2 separate regions of the Homo sapiens genome follow, and region 1 is linked to region 2. Evidence: promoter capture Hi-C in 16 types of primary human blood cells and fetal thymus (Javierre and others, 2016). All regions are on one chromosome and are shown on one strand. Each heading gives the region's core, a stretch centred on a gene start or on the middle of the fragment in contact. The rest is flanking DNA. Distances are from core to core; before and after follow the strand shown.

The links. Contacts are between HindIII fragments. The CHiCAGO score rates a contact against its expected background, and 5 or more counts as called.
Region 1: a contact is called between the fragment with the promoter of METTL21A here and the fragment with the promoter of LANCL1 in region 2, in 2 of 17 cell types (non-activated CD4 T cells and activated CD4 T cells). The highest score is 6.6, in non-activated CD4 T cells.

Annotation. Positions count from the first base shown.
Region 1 is chr2:207,623,790-207,626,735 of GRCh38, forward strand. It overlaps METTL21A (methyltransferase 21A, HSPA lysine), which reads right to left and starts at 1,605. Exons shown (of 4, transcript NM_001127395.5): 1 at 1,273-1,605; 2 at 440-615. The coding sequence starts at 586. RefSeq lists a silencer at 1,201-1,800 and enhancers at 2,071-2,775, 2,776-2,946. The HindIII fragment of the contact is 10,824 bases long and covers 1-2,946 here.
Region 2 is chr2:210,475,090-210,478,196 of GRCh38, forward strand. LANCL1 (LanC like glutathione S-transferase 1) reads right to left here and starts at 1,670. Exons shown (of 10, transcript NM_006055.3): 1 at 1,531-1,670; 2 at 1,227-1,323. The coding sequence starts at 1,307. It also overlaps a transcript of CPS1 not described here. The HindIII fragment of the contact is 5,337 bases long and covers 385-3,107 here.

The DNA.
Region 1 (2,946 bases), core at 355-2,854, 2.9 Mb before region 2:
CTGCATTGAGCCAGGATCGCACCACTGCACTCCAGCCTGGGCAACAGAACGAGACTATGTCTCAAAAGAAAAAAAGACTAACTCGTGTCCAAAGCAGTTGGGGGCTTTCCTTCCTATCCTCTCCGACAAGTCATTAACTTTCCTCAGCTTTCATTTACACCTTTAAAATGTAATCTATGTGGAGGGACAAGAGGAGTGACTAAGGGATACGGGTTTGAGAGTGGCAGTGATAGTAAAACTTTTAAAATTGAAGCGGTAATAGTTGCACTACTCTGTGAATATACTGTATTTTTAAAACCGCACTGAATTGTGCACTTTAAATAGGTAAAGTGTATGCTATGTGAATTATATCTCAATAAAGCTGTTCTAAAAAAAATAAAAAATAAAAGCCAGTCTTGCAAGTGTGAACGTTTTCAGAGGTCCCCCAGGGCTTACTTACCGCATCCCAAACCACCGCTGCGACTCCCAGGTGTCTCCAGTCCTGCCGGATCTGGATCGTGTGGTTTGCAAAGGAAAAAGTTGCAAGAGGCTTGTGGAATTTCTGCAACCCAAATTCCGTGGTCTCCTCATAGGGCACGAGGGCCATTCCGCCTGCACCCCGCCCTCTGCTCAGACCTGCCGTGCAAAAGAATCCTGGGTGACGCTCTGGCCAAAAGATACATTATCTGTTCTTAACTAACTCCAAATGCTTTTAAGGTCGTTTACAAGTTCAAAAGAAAAAAAGAAACAGGTGGAGGAAGCCTTTGTCCAATTTCTTTTGCATGGCTCTTCCGAATCTGAGTGAGATTTGGCTCGGAATTTGTGTCAACGGATGTGTTTGGGGAAGAAGAAAAAAAAAGCCCAGAACATTCCAACTTCCGCAGAATACCCTATACACTGCACTGCTACCACTCCGTGAATTCAGAACTACACAAGCGGCGGAAGCGGCGGTGATCGCCCAGGGCCCCAGAGCAGCGCGGAAAGCAGCGCTTCCAACCCAGACCCGGGCGCCCGGACTGCAGCTGCAGCCAGCCGGGCGGCCCGGGTTCTTTCGCTACGGTTTCGCTACCCACCTCCCCTCCTCCATCGGCTGCTTCGATAGTGATAACAATGGGACAGAACCTGCCCTTAGACTGGGTGTTAGCGGTTTGATAAACCAGAAATACATGGTCGCCGCAGTTCCGTCTCCCCGACCCTGGAAGTGAGCGACACTGGGGGCCTCCAAGCGGCTCGCGGGGACAGCGGGGACTCGGAGGCCTCCCCGAACTCCCCCTATAGCTGCCCCCCACTCACCCCTCTCCCGGGACGACCAGTGCGCCCTTCCTGCCCGGGGGCCCCGGAGCTGCGGCAACCCTCCAGGGGTGAGAGGGAGACCAGGCGAGGGGGGTCACAGGGCCTCTTAGGATCCCCAGGCCATACGGGGCGCCGTGAGCTGCCCGGCGGAGCACCCAGGGCTCGCCCAGGCCGGGCTGAGGCGCCGCCACGCCGGTACTTACGGCCCGGGAGGCGGTCCCGCGTGGAGCGCGCGCTCCGCTTTCCCCGCCCCGGGCTGGCTGCGAAAACCGCCGGCCTTAAAGAGCCCGCGACGCGGGGGCGGGCGGCCCCGGCCCGGAGCCACGCATTTCCGGTCTCCCGGCACCCAGCCTCCGGCAGGTGCCCCCGGAGCTCACGGCGAGGGCGGGGCCGGGCCGTGGCGCGGTGGAGGAGTGACGTTGCGGGAGGGGGGACCGGGGCTTTCCCTCGTGCGTCCCCAGGGTACACGGACGACTTAATCCGTTTCCCCCGCCGCCGAGGGAGGCGCTGTGGGGGCGGGAGCAAGAGTGAGATCGGGGTGCCGAACTGCCGCGGGTGCACAGGGAGAGCATGGGGTGCCCTGGGCTCTCCTAGCGGGAGAGAAAAGCCACCCACCTGGCGCTGAATGTGCCTCTCGACCTTTTCTATCATGTGCTCCGCCGCTCTCTGCCTCTGACTTTGTCGCTTGCGCGTTGTGCCTGTTTTTTAAAGGTGGCGCGTTAGCGGATGATGGAGACAGCTCGCTCCGAAGAAGGCATGGTCACTCTAGTCCCCGCGTCTCCACGGTGGGGTCAGAAGCGGCGTAATAGCCCGCTTGGCGGCAATCGAGTGGAAAAGTCACAAAACCCTTTTCAACTAAAGCACAGTGGGGGAAGTGAACACGTGGCGCCCGAGTCCAAGTTTTTAAAGTGGGGCGGGGGTCGGCGGGCTCTGGCTGCAGTCGGAAGCGCGGAGCTCTGGGCGTGCGCTCGGCTCCAGCCCCGGCCCCAGGCGGCGCTGCAGACTCCAGTGCCCCAGTCTCCCTCCTCCCGATGCCAAGACGCACCTGCCCGTGAGGACCCACGCTGGACGTGGAAGGTGCCGAGGGCCTGGTACCCTGGCCGCAGGCCCTGGCAGAGCGCGCGGCTGGAGTGGGTCCATTGAGTGGGACCGTGCGGGGACCGGCATCCTCCCGGGGCAGGCTTCTTTTTCCTCCTGGGGCCCCTCGCCCCACACCGCCCGCTGCGCTCTCAGCGCGGCTGCACGTTAGAACCAGCTGGGGTAAACCTCCCTTACCAGTCCCCCGCCCCAAGAGCTGGCCATGGGAGGGGGCCCGAGCGCTGATTTTTTTGTTTGGTTTTTTGCTTTTGTTTTTGTTTTTGTTTTTGTTTTGAGACGGAGTCTCTCTCTGTCGCCCAGGCTGGAGTGCAAGGGCGCGAACTCGGCTCACTGCAGTCTCCGCCTTCCGGGTTCAAGCGATTCTCCTGCCTCATTCTCCCGTGTAGCTAGGATTACAGGCCTGCGCCAGCACGCCAGCTAATTTTTGTGGGATTTTGTTTGTTTGTTTGAGACGGAGTCTTGCTCTGTCGCCAGGCTGGAGTGCAGTGGCGCGATCTCGGCTCACTGCAGCCTCCACCTCCCGGGTTCAAGCAGTTCTCCTGCCTCAGCCTCCAAAGTAGCTGGAATTACAGGCGC
Region 2 (3,107 bases), core at 420-2,919:
TTCTTCATCTCTTTGATTCCTCCTACCTGCATTACTGACCCAAGTTAATCTATAATGTGACAAGTGTTTTAAGGAAAAAAACAACCATCAGACCCACAGATTAATTTGACAGGGATGAAATCTGTAAGGCCTTTATATCACATAAAATGTCTTTTGTATGGCTGACAAGTTTCAAAGAAATAAACTGGTAAAATTTTTAAAGCGTGTGCCTTGTTTCCAACTTAACTCATTTTCAAAACTAAATTTTATTTTTTTATTTTTTAGAGACAGGGTCTCTGTCACCCAGGCTAGAGTGCAGTGGTGCAATCATAGCTCACTACAGCCTCGAATCTCCTAGGCTCCAGCAATTCTCCCGCCTCAGCCTCCCAAGTAGCTGGGACTACAAGCTTTCCACCACACCTGGCTAATTTTTAAAAAAATTTTAGTAGAGATAAGGTCCTGCTGTGTTGCACAGGCTGGTCTCAAACTCGTGGCCTTAAGCAATCCTCCTGCCTTGATTTCCCAAAGTGTCGGGATTAATGGTGTGAGCCACTGCACCCAGCCAAAAGTAGGTATTCTTAAAAATATCTGTATTCCCTCTTAACAATTATGTTCACCCAATGAGGCATGAGAAAACACAGGCCCCTAGTATTTTACATCCAGGTTCTCTTTTGCACAGTGATTTGTGACATGCTAACCAGTTTAATTTACAAGTTTCTTTTTTTTTGTTTTCCAGCTGTGGATATGCCCTGTGGAGTGACACCGGTACAAAGAACTTCAGGTTTCCTAGGTCCCCAAATTCTCTAAGCACTAACAGTTTAAAGACGTCCTTACCATACACCACCGTTTGCTCTCATCATTACCCTGAACGCACTTGTGTATAATCACAAAGGAGTAACACGGCACATGTGAATACCGTTAGGATTCTTCACCTCTTTTTAAGAAGCAAACCAAAATACATTAAAAAATGCCAATTACATAGTAAACTACATATTTGCCAATTTTTAAAATTTATACTATCAATAATTGAGTTTATTTCAATTAATAATGTTAACAATGACACATTTAACATTATGTTAGAGCTCAATTTGTATATATTAACATGTATTTTTAAATAATTTACGTATTTATCGTCGAATCATGTATTTTTTTAAAGGGGGATGCTCAACTCTCTCAGGCAAAAATGAGCACCTTTCCGAACACCGTGGGGAGAGGCAGGGATGCAGGCAGACATATCCTAAACTCACCCTCCCGGCAGCATCAAAGTAGCCTTCGGCCAGGGATTTGTTATAATCAGCATAAGGATTCGGGAAGGCCCTTTGAGCCATGACGCCGGAAGCAAGCCTGCAGAACAGGGGAAAAACAGAAACTAGGTTGAGATAGGGGCCTCGGCCGAGTTGCGAGGGCGGCGGCGGCGCCCAGGTATCCCCCTTCCTCCAGCTCCAGGGCCATCGAGCCGTCTCGGCGGTCCGAGTGGACCTCGGGCCCACTGCGGCCCAACTGCTAGGACATGGCGCCTTCGCGAAAAAGCTGCCAGGGCCCTTAACCCACCCGGACAAAGAGGCCCCGTTTTGCAACCCCGTTCCCACGCCCGCGACTTGAAGCAAGTGCGCCTCCCGCGTCCTGAAGCCCTTCTCGGCCCTGGCCTCTCACCCCGCAGCCCCGGACAGTAACAGAAGGGCTATTTTACCGCCCAGTTCCTGCCAGGAGGGCCAATCAGAGCCTTCGCCGTTCCCGAGACCCGCCCCCTTCTCTCTTACAGTTTGTTAAAGACACAGGCGTGTAATTTCTAAAGGATAACGCAGGGTATTTTAATTACTGGGTAGCAGAAGTGAGGACCTAGAATCACGCGGAGATGTGACCAATATTTCCTACCCTTCTTTAATTTTTCTTATTTTTAAAAAGTCAAATTTAAGTCCAGAGTCATAAGAAGTATATATTTTTTTAACCTGGAGAAGAAACAGACTGCTTTTAGATCTGAACATGCTGGTATTTCTGCTGTTCGCAATAGATAAAATTTGGCGGGGGGTGGGGGGATAATGTCTCTCCAGGGACTTGCCAATCTTTTCTTTTCATTTCTTAAAACAAACAAACAAAAAAGCACCACCATCATTAACAACAACAACAACAAAAATATGCCCAAAGGACAGGATATCAAATAGCAGTTGATAATACTTTGGGGAAAGCACATGAAAACACAAATTACAGCTCTTAGGAAATTTATTCTGTTCCTTAGCCTAAATTGGACTATAATACTGGATAACAAAGCTCTAAAAAATACTGAAAACCAACACAGCAGGAGATCCACAACATTCAATTTCAATGTTTTAACAGTCCCTGCTATCTGAAACATTTTTCTTTCATTTAAAATTAAATCCCACCTGGTACATATTAGGCCCATTCTATTGCTCAGAGAATTTTGGAGTTCAGTTAAAAAGTCAGCCTCACTCTCTCCTTTTCCTTCTCTCCGGTTTCAATGAAGAGTCCTAGCTCCAGACCTCCAACTGGAGAAGCTCAGTCTCCACCCCAACTCCCTCCCTCCTTGGCCTAAGTTTGTCCTTCTGAGGCTGCCATCCCAAACTCTACTCCTAATCCCTCCCCACACCCAGGTTTGCTCTTTTAAAATAGTTGCTTTCTTAGGAAATGTAGTTGCTTTCTTAACCTCATCAAATTCATGAAGATTTAGCCGAGGCCCATGGTGAGTCTTAAGCTGGATATCTCTCATGTTTTAAAAGATGGGTGTTTGAAGGAGCAACTCACAAGAGAGAAAAGGAAAACGAGAGACATTTTATCAATTATTTTTTCTTTAATGATTAAAGGCTATCCATTTATCCCACTCACAGTCTTTAAGCAATTAAATATTACTGTTGTTAAGCAAGGCAGGATGGTAATTGTATATTTTCATAGTATGCCTCTATCTTATTTTACTAATCCTTTCCCCTAATGATGGACATTGTTTCTAACTTCCATACTACAAATAATATTCTTGGAACATGTGCTTTTATGAATCTGTGTGAGTATCCCTGAGACATACACCCAGCAGTCAATTGCTGGATCATATGAGATTCTGTACTTAATTTCCCCAATGTTGTTAGATTGCTTTCCAAAACTGCTGGACTAGTTTATAT